2 separate regions of the Homo sapiens genome follow, and region 2 is linked to region 1. Evidence: promoter capture Hi-C in human tissues and cell types (Jung and others, 2019). All regions are on one chromosome and are shown on one strand. Each heading gives the region's core, a stretch centred on a gene start or on the middle of the fragment in contact. The rest is flanking DNA. Distances are from core to core; before and after follow the strand shown. Region 1 overlaps TSPEAR (thrombospondin type laminin G domain and EAR repeats). Region 2 holds the start of LRRC3 (leucine rich repeat containing 3).

Region 1 (4,866 bases), core at 745-3,244:
ATCGATTCTGGGCCATGAGGGCCTTCTCATCTTGCAAAGCAGGAGGCTGAGGCCCAGAAGAGGAAAGATTCCAGATCTCACCAAGATCCCAGCGCTACCTCCTATCCACCCAAGATCCTAACCCCGGGGACCCCCAAACGTGCAGTTCCGAGGGTCGGCCTCAATCGTGAGGTGCGTGACTTTCCCCAGGGCCCCCCTCAAACACACGCAGGCCACCACGCAGGCTGGAACCCCTCCGTCCTCAGATACAGGAGCCCAGCTCTCTGCCCGCTGCTCTGCGGCCCCACGTCAGGGGCTGCCCCAGGCCCTCATTCTTGCTCTGGGCGGCTGCTGGCCGCCAGGGTTTGCCTTCAAAAGGACTCATTTATCCCAGGAGCTTCCATTTCCGAGGCGTGGAGTCCCCAAGGCAGGGCGCCGACATCAAAGGGCACGAGTTGTTTACATTTAATATTAAATAATAAAGTATGAAAATAAATTCTTCCAGACTGCTTTCTGGAAAAACCGTGGTGGCTTCTGCTCTCACGGGAAAGGGCAGGGTGGGGTCCCCCTGGGATCCCCCAACCCACTCCACTGCCCATCTTTAACACACTTCCAAACAAATGGGGGAGAACCTGGCAGGGTTTTGCTTTGAGGACAAATCCCTTATAATGTTTATTCACACTGTTCATCTTTTCTTCTAAAAATTCATATTTATATCTTTTGTCCATTTTTCCAAATTTAAAGACACATTTTTTATTAGTTTGTAAGGGTTGGTTTTCTGTCGTGTGTGTGGTAAAGAGTTTGTCTTTTGCTTTTGAATAGGATGTCTGTTTCCATAGAAAGCTTTTAACACAGGTGGTCGACCCAGTGCCTTTCCTTCTGGGCTTGTCTTCTTCATAGAACCCTGAGGTTATACAACTGCCTTCAGCTTTTCTTCTTTTTCACATTTGGACTTTTAATCCATATAACATTTATTTTTGTGTACAATGTGAAGTGGGGGTAAGCTTTGTTTTCTTCCAGATTACATGAAGCTAATCTCCCGAATCATATGGAGTTATCAAGTAAAACCCATCCTTTTCTCATTGCCTTCAAATATAGCATTTATGGCCGGGCGGGGTGGCTTACGCCTATAATCTCAGCACTTTGGGAGGCTGAGGCGGGCAGATCACTTGAGGTCAGGAGTTCGAGAACAGCCTGGCCAACATAGTGAAACCCCATCTCTATTAAAAATACAAAAATTAGCCAGGCATGGGCTAGGCGCAGTGGCTCATGCCTGTAATCCCAGCACTTTGGGAGGCCGAGGCGGGCAGATCACAAGGTCAGGAGATCGAGACCATCCTGGCTAACACAGTGAAACCCCATCTCTACTAAAAAATACAAAACAATTAGCCAGGTGTGGTGGCAGGTGCCTGTAGTCCCAGCTACTCAGGAGGCTGAAGCAAGAGAATGGCGTGAACCCAGGAGGCGGAGCTTGCAGTGTGCCGAGACTGGGCCACTGCACTCCAGCTTGGGCGACAAAGCGAGACTCCATCTCCAAAAAGAAAAAATAAAATTAGCCAGGCATGGTTGGCCCATGCCTGTGGTCCCAGCGACTAGGGAGGCTGAGGTGGGAGGATTGCTTGAGCCTGGGAATTTCAGCCTGCAATGAGCTGAGGTTATGCCACTGCACTTCAGCCTGGGCTACAGAGTGAGACCCTGTCCCCCCCAAAAAATAAATAAGAAGGAGATATTATTAAAAAGGTACCCAGGCCCAGATGGCTTTATAACTGAATTTAACCCAGCTGTCAGAAATGAGAGAAAAAATCCTATTCTTCAGACTATCCCAGTCCACAGGTGCAGTTAGAAAGCCCTGCAGTGTGTATTTACTGTTAGGCTTCATTTTAAACTGGATAAAGTTAAGTCCCCAAAAGAAAACCACCGAGCAATCTAATTTCCTATTATAGATGCTAAAAGCTTAAAGACAGGCAATTGGAAGCCAGTGGCTTATTCAATAATTCTGCATCATCACCAAGTGGCATCGGGTCTAATAACGCGAGGAGATGTCTCACTATAAATCATGACATCAACAGTAAACATAGTGGACCGCACCACGCACTCACAGATGCCAAAGGAGACCTCAGCCCTGGCCCGGATGGCCCACAGCCCATCAAACGGCCATGCTCAGATGTGCTCGTTAAATTAGAGCAAGGTGGGACAGCTGCCACTTCTGCCGCCATCCAAGATTGTTCTGGAATCTTTAGCTAGGGAAGCAAGCTACATAATCAATTAGAACACTAGAAATCAAGGGGAAATGTTCTTTATTCTCAGAGGTAATTACATTCCTAAGTCCCCTGAGAATCTTTTTAAGAAAAGCTATTAGAACTGATTGGTTAGGGGGCGAGAAAATGATTGTCATGATGAGCAGCTGCAAATGAAAGTTAAAAAGCCAACCCCATTCGTTAAACGTACGATACTTGGAAAACTCCTGGAAATAAATGAGAACACCACAGTGTCTATGAGAGAAAAATTAAATATCAACAACTCCCATGTTAGGATGTCCACACGCCGCATCCCTGACAGAATCCAAAGGCAGAAGCACCAGCACTCGTGGGTTGTGGCTACACCCGGGGCAGGGCCCCAGCTCAGATCCCACACGGGTGCAGCCAGCGCCGGGCCATCCACTGGGCCCAGCCAATCTCGGAAATGACACCTGACTTGGGACTCGCTGTGAGCCGGTGGCACCTGCGAGAGAAGGTGAGCCCCCGGGGGGAAGCAAGGCTCTGGGAGGAGGCCGGCCTCGGTGAGCCCTTGGGGGGAAGCAAGGCTCTGGGAGGAGGCCGGCCTCGGTGAGCCCTCGGGGAAGTAAGGCGCTGGGAGGAAGCTGGCCTCAGTGAGCCCTCGGGGAAGCAAGGCTCTGGGAGGAAGCTGGCCTCGGTGAGCCCACAGTGGGGAAGCAAGGTGCTGGGAGGAAGCCGGCCTCGGTGAGCCCTCGGGGGGAAGCAAGGCTCTGGGAGGAAGCTGGCCTCGGTGAGCCCTCAGGGGGAAGCAAGACTCTGGGAGGAGGCCGGCCTCGGTGAGTCCTCGGGGGGAAGCAAGGCTCTGGGAGGAGGCCGGCCTCGGTGAGCCCTTGGGTGGAAGCCGGCCTTGGTGAGCCCACAGGGGGGAAGCAAGGCGCTGGGAGGAGGCCGGCCTTGGTGAGCCCACGGGGGGAAGCAGTGTGCTGGGAGGAAGCTGGCCTCGGTGAGCCCTCGGGGGGAAGCAAGGCTCTGGGAGGAGGCCGGCCTTGGTGAGCCCTCGGGGGGAAGCAAGGCTCTGGGAGGAAGCCGGCCTCGGTGAGCCCTCGGCGGGAAGCAAGGCTCTGGGAGGAGGCCGGAGTTGGTGAGCCCTCGGGGGGAAGCAAGGCTCTGGGAGGAAGCCGGCCTCGGTGAGCCCTCGGGGGGAAGAAAGGCTCTGGGAGGAGGCCGGCCTTGGTGAGCCCTTGGGGGGAAGCCGGCCTTGGTGAGCCCACAGTGGGGAAGCAATGTGCTGGGAGGAAGCTGGCCTCGGTGAGCCCTCAGGGGGAAGCAAGGCGCTGGGAGGAGGCCGGCCTTGGTGAGCCCTTGGGGGGAAGCCGGCCTTGGTGAGCCCACAGCGGGGAAGCAAGGCTCTGGGAGGAAGCCGGCCTCGGTGAGCCCTCGGCGGGAAGCAAGGCTCTGGGAGGAGGCCGGAGTTGGTGAGCCCTCGGGGGGAAGCAAGGCTCTGGGAGGAAGCTGGCCTCGGTGAGCCCTCGGGGGGAAGCAAGGCGCTGGGAGGAGGCCGGCCTTGGTGAGCCCTTGGGGGGAAGCCGGCCTTGGTGAGCCCACAGGGGGGAAGCAATGTGCTGGGAGGAAGCTGGCCTCGGTGAGCCCTCGGCGGGAAGCAAGGCTCTGGGAGGAGGCCGGAGTTGGTGAGCCCTCGGCGGGGAAGCAAGGCTCTGGGAGGAAGCCGGCCTCGGTGAGCCCTCAGCAGGAAGCAAGGCTCTGGGAGGAAGTTGGCCTCGGTGAGCCCTTGGGGGGAAGCTGGCCTTGGTGAGCCCACAGTGGGGAAGCAAGGCTCTGGGAGGAAGCCGGCCTCAGTGAGCCCACAGTGGGGAAGCAAGTCTCTTGGAGGAGGCCGGCCTTGGTGAGCCCACAGTGGGGAAGCAAGACTCTGGGAGGAAGCCGGCCTCGGTGAGCCCTCGGGGGGTAGCTGGCCTCGGTGAGCCCTCAGGGGGAAGCAGGGCTCTGGGAGGAAGCCGGCCTCGGTGAGCCCTTAGGGGGAAGCAAGGCACTGGGAGGAAGCTGGCCTCGGTGAGCCCTCGGGGGAAGCAAGTCTCTTGGAGGAAGCTGGCCTCGGTGAGCCCTCGGGGGAAGCAAGGCTCTGGGAGGAAGCTGGCCTCAGTGAGCCCACAGTGGGGAAGCAAGGCTCTTGGAGGAGGCCGGCCTCGGTGAGCCCACAGTGGGGAAGCAAGGCTCTGGGAGGAGGCCGGCCTCGGTGAGCCCACAGTGGGGAAGCAAGTCTCTTGGAGGAGGCCGGCCTCGGTGAGCCCACAGTGGGGAAGCAAGTCTCTTGGAGGAGGCCGGCCTCGGTGAGCCCACAGTGGGGAAGCAAGTCTCTTGGAGGAGGCCGGCCTCGGTGAGCCCACAGTGGGGAAGCAAGTCTCTTGGAGGAGGCCGGCCTCGGTGAGCCCACAGTGGGGAAGCAAGGCTCTGGGAGGAGGCCGGCCTCGGCAGCTCATTACCTGTAAATAATACTGTTCACCGAGAAGGTACGCCCATCGAAGGAGTTGGCCACCACCAGGAAATAATCTTCTCCCACCGAGAAAAACTCCCAGTCCAGAGCACTGCAGGAACAAGTGGGTGGATATTAGGACACAACAGACATCGCCAGGGAACTGGGGGATTGGCCAGA
Region 2 (4,866 bases), core at 695-3,194, 47 kb before region 1:
CACTTTAAAATCAATCATTATACTCTATCATATTAATAGATCATCACGCAAAAAGATTCTCAATAGATGCAGAAAAAACAAAATCCAACTTTCATTCCTGATTAAAAAGACTCTCAGCAAACAAGAGAAAGGATAGTCTTTTCAACAGTCTGGAAAAAACTGATTATCCACATACACAAAAAATAAACATTGAATCATATCTCATACTATAAACCCAAATAAACTTAAAATAGGTAATAGACCCAAATGCAAACCTTTAAAACTCTAAAACCCTTGTGACTTTGGGTGAGGCAAAGATTTCTTATATATGACACCAAAAGCAGGATCCATAAAAGAAAAACATAAATTGGATTTCCTCAAAATTAAAAAATTCTGCTCTTTGAAAAACTGTTAAGAGAATGAACACACAATCCAAAGGCTTGGAGAAAGCATTTACAGATCACATATCTGATAAAGGACTTGTATCCAGAATATGCAACAAACTCCCAAACTCAATAATAAGAAAATAAACAACCCAATTAAAAGTGAGTAAAAGATTTGAACTCAACGCTTACTACAGGAGATGGAGAATAAACAGATGAAATGATGCTCAACATCATTGGCCAACAGGGAAACGCAAATTAAAACCACAGTTCCATCTATCACCACACACCTATTAGAGTATTTGAAATTAAAAAGACAAACCATACCAAGTGCTGGGGAGGATGTGGAATGTAAAACCATACAATCGCTTTGGCAGTTTCTTAAAAAGTTTCACATATGGCTACCGTGGCATCCAGCCACTCCACTCCTAGACATCTATTCAAGAGAAAGAAAAGCATTCATCCAAAGACTTGTGCACAATGTTCGGATCAGCTTTATCTGTAAGAGCCAACACCAGAAACAACCCAAATGCCCACCAGCAGGTGAATGGACACAAACTGTGGTACATTCATACACTGGAGTACCATGCAGCTGTAAAAGAAATACGCATTGACAAACCAAATGACGCAGGCAAATCTCAAAAATAATTGTGCTGAGTGAAAGAAGCTACACAAAAAGTACATATTATATGATTCCATTTGTGCAAATCATAGGAAATGCAAAGTAATCAGTAGTGACAGAATGCAGATCAGTGCTTGCCTGGGGATGAGGGAGGGCAGGGAGAGATGACCAAGAGGGAACCCGGGGTGTTCACTATGCTGATTGTGGTGATGGTTTCACAGGAGTATCCGAGTGTTAAAACGTACCAAATTGAAATATGTGGCTTACCGTCTGTCAATTACACCACAATAAGGCTACTTTTTGAAAACCATGAGGATGGCTCAGGTCCGGCTCAAATGCCCCCACCCTGCGTTCCTTCCTTGGGATGTCAGACGCTGGAGCTGGAGCAGAAGGGGACCTAGATGGGCGGAGATCTAGCCCTACTCACCCACTGGCCACGGGGTAGGCGAGGGACGCTCAGCAGGGGCTTCCCGCAGACCCAGGGTCTTCAAGCCCCAGAAGTCCTGATGCCAGAGGGAAGAGGGGATTTGCCCAGAGTGAGGGGCAGGGGCTGGACCCACAGCCCCTCCCGGCGCGCAGACCCCGCCCCCACCCATAACCACGCCCTCAGCCCCCACCACCTCGTCCTCAGCCCCACAACCACGCCCCCAGCATGCCACAATTACTCCCACAACCCGCCCACAGCCCCTGCGACCTGGGTCTTAGTACCAGCTCCATCTAAAGCCGCACCACCGGCCCCTCCCATGCCCCTCCCATGCCCCTCCCCCATCTCTTCCAGGCCCCGCCCTGCCGCAGAACCCGCCCTCAAGCCCCGCCCCCGCCTAACCACAAATCCCGTTCCGGTCTCCTTACATGCCCCGCCCCTTCCCCGCCCCCGCGGGGAATCGACACAGCCTGTCTCCGCCTTTCGCCCCGCCCCCTCCAGGCCCCGCCCCACCCCGCCCCTCGCCCGCGCAGGCCGGAGTCGCGGCCTCCCCAGCTAGTGGTCGCGGGCGCGGTCGCAGGGGCAGCGGGGTGGCCGCCGCGCCAGGCGTGGAGCTGGGTCTGGCGGGCTCCGAGAGGCCCGGGAGCGGCGCGCAGAGCAGCCTCCGGCCGCCGCCGCGCAGGTAAAGCCCCCGCCCAGCCCTGGGAGCGTGGATTCCCACCCACCCCATGACCATCCCCCCGCCGCGAGTGCTGGGGTCTCGGGGGTCCCAGGTTCCGGGGGTCCTAGGGCCGGAGGGTCTAAAGGCTGGAGGTCCTGGGGGTCCGAGCCTCTCCCGGCCGGCTCCGCGCGCGGCCCCGCCGTCCACGCCCAGCGCGGGCCGCGCGCACAGGGCTTGGCTTCTCTGTTTTCTCGGTTTCCTTCTTCAGGCAGTTGAAAGAAAAGGCGCGGTTCTGTGCCCGGTGCGAGCCGCGGCTCCTTTAGGGCTGGCAGGGAAGGGCTTGCTGGGTTATGACAGTTTTTAGGGGTTGTCGGAGTCAGCCAGGCGTTGGCTGCTGGAGTAGCCCCTGGCGCGCGAGCGCCCGCTGGTGCCCGGCCACGTGCCCAGCTTGACCCGCGCTCCAGGTTCGGGAGAAGCTGCAGCCGTCACCGTCCTCCTGGCGTCCACCCTGAGGAGGGAGGGGCTGGGTGGTCCAAGCCGCCGCCACTCCGCCGCCCGGCCTTTGGTCCCCAGCGGTGCTGTAGGTGGCCAGGGGTGGCCGCAGTGACCACCCACTGGGCCATGCGGAGCCCCCTGGCAGTGCCAGCTCCCTGCACTTGTGGGACGCTCCTCCCGGGCGCATTGGGAGTCTCCAGAAGTAAGTTACAGGCAGAGCTGTTTAAGGAGGCGTGCTCCCCACCCCAGACCCTTCAGTGGGCCCTCAACACCCTCCCCACCAGTGGACGCGTTTCCCAGGTGACCGCAGCCGGCAGTGCTGACCACCCTCCCTCCCTCTCCGCTCCCTCCTGCGTCTTCCCTTTCAGAGCTGCCAGAGTGGACTGCACTGCTTCTCCCAGCGGGGCAGGATGGCGGTTTCATGTCTGGTTGGATAAGGCCTTGCCTGCGGAAACCAGCTCCATCCCCAGGCCCTAGCAGAGGCTCGCGTGTCCCCGTCCCCAGGTCAGGTCAGGATGGGCACCGTGCGCCCACCTCGCCCCTCGCTCCTGCTGGTCTCCACCCGGGAGTCTTGTCTCTTCCTCCTCTTCTGCCTGCACCTGGGCGCCGCCTGCCCACAGCCCTGCCGGTGCCCTGACCACGCAGGGGCTGTGGCTGTCTTCTGCAGCTTGCGGGGCCTTCAGGAGGTCCCCGAGGACATCCCGGCCAACACCGTGCTCCTGAAGCTCGATGCCAACAAGATCTCCCACCTCCCGGACGGGGCCTTCCAGCACCTGCACCGGCTCAGGGAGCTGGATCTGTCTCACAACGCCATCGAGGCCATCGGCTCCGCCACCTTCGCGGGCCTGGCCGGGGGCCTGCGGCTGCTGGACCTGTCTTACAACCGCATCCAGAGGATCCCCAAGGACGCCCTGGGCAAACTCAGCGCCAAGATACGCCTGTCCCACAACCCCCTGCACTGCGAGTGCGCCCTGCAGGAGGCCCTGTGGGAGCTGAAGCTGGACCCCGACTCTGTGGACGAGATCGCCTGCCACACCTCAGTGCAGGAGGAGTTTGTGGGGAAGCCTCTGGTTCAGGCTCTGGATGCGGGTGCCAGCCTCTGCAGCGTCCCCCACAGGACCACAGACGTGGCCATGCTGGTCACCATGTTCGGCTGGTTCGCCATGGTGATCGCCTACGTCGTGTACTATGTGCGCCACAACCAGGAGGATGCCCGGAGGCACCTGGAGTACCTGAAGTCTCTGCCCAGCGCCCCCGCCTCCAAGGACCCCATCGGCCCGGGGCCCTAGCGCCTGTTCCGGCAGACCCCCGCCGGTGGCTGCTGTCACTTTTGTAGTAGGTGGTGACTGATGCTGCTTTTGCTCTTCCCTGAGGCAGGTGTCACAGCCATGTGTGCTCCCCACTGTTGCACTCAGGCACAGCAGCACCTCCAGGCTGGGTGGTTTTGCCACACATCCGTGTGACGGATGAGGAACCTGAAGCTTAGAGGAACGGAATGACTGCCCGTGACGATACCATCAGGAAATTATCCCAGTGGAACTTCAACCCGGGCTGTCCATCGTGACATTCCGCCTCCTTCCACCATGCCAGCCTCTCCCACACGGGGCCCTGCAGGCTGTGGATATGCACTCAGAGGACTAAGGGGGTGCTCTGCAAGCGAGAGGGTTCACCAGAGGGAGCTTGGGTGCAGGTTCACCCGCTGAAGGCGCTGATAAGTCCTGTGCTGAGGAGCTGACTTGCCCTTGTTTACTTACAAAGTGCATTGTAGGTAAACATGAGCCTTGTTCCAGTGTTCGAAGTACATTGGAACGTAAGCCCTGTTTCCAGAGCAAAGTAACAGAGACCAGGTTTTTCTAGAGAGCTAAGTGGGATGTGTAGCTCAAACAAACTGTCCTACCCTTTTTTATTCTCAAATGTTTGTTTTGAGTAACCGTAGTGCCAAAATTTCAGTTCAGTAATGGGGTGAACAATATGGAGAGAGACCTGGGAAAAGTCCAGGGTAGCTTGCCCAGGGGAAGACAGCAGCCACATACCTGGGGGCCCGCCTGCTTCCTGCCCCTCTGGGTGTGCCTGATGCGGGAGGCCCTGCCCCAGGGCGATCTCAGCTCACTGCAACCTTTGCCTCCCAGGCTCAATCACTTCTGCTGCCTCAGCCTCCCTAGTAGCTGGAATTACAGGCATGAGCCACCACGCCTGGCTAATTTTTGTATTTTTAGTAGAGACCGGGTTTCACCATGTTGGCCAGGCTGGTCTCGAACTGTTGGCCTCAAGTGATCCGCCCGCCTCAGCCTCCCAAAGTGCT

Evidence for each region. Contacts are between HindIII fragments. The study calls those that stand out against the background at their distance.
Region 2: the fragment with the promoter of LRRC3 here is called in contact with a fragment that was not itself captured in region 1 in 1 of the 25 tissues and cell types used here (lymphoblastoid cells).

Annotation. Positions count from the first base shown.
Region 1 is chr21:44,500,084-44,504,949 of GRCh38, forward strand. It overlaps TSPEAR (thrombospondin type laminin G domain and EAR repeats), which reads right to left. Exons shown (of 12, transcript NM_144991.3): 11 at 4,697-4,798. Among named protein-coding and RNA genes, the nearest start is that of TSPEAR-AS1, 3.5 kb to the right of the region's middle. RefSeq lists an enhancer at 3,079-3,598. The HindIII fragment of the contact is 6,330 bases long and covers 1-4,866 here.
Region 2 is chr21:44,453,566-44,458,431 of GRCh38, forward strand. LRRC3 (leucine rich repeat containing 3) reads left to right here and starts at 1,945. Exons shown (of 2, transcript NM_030891.6): 1 at 1,945-2,090; 2 at 2,933-4,866. The coding sequence starts at 3,080. The coding sequence ends at 3,853. It overlaps LRRC3-DT (LRRC3 divergent transcript), which reads right to left and starts at 1,719. Exons shown (of 4, transcript NR_047476.1): 1 at 1,679-1,719; 2 at 1,412-1,487. RefSeq lists an enhancer at 942-1,442 and silencers at 1,606-1,785, 1,874-2,303. The HindIII fragment of the contact is 13,764 bases long and covers 1-4,866 here.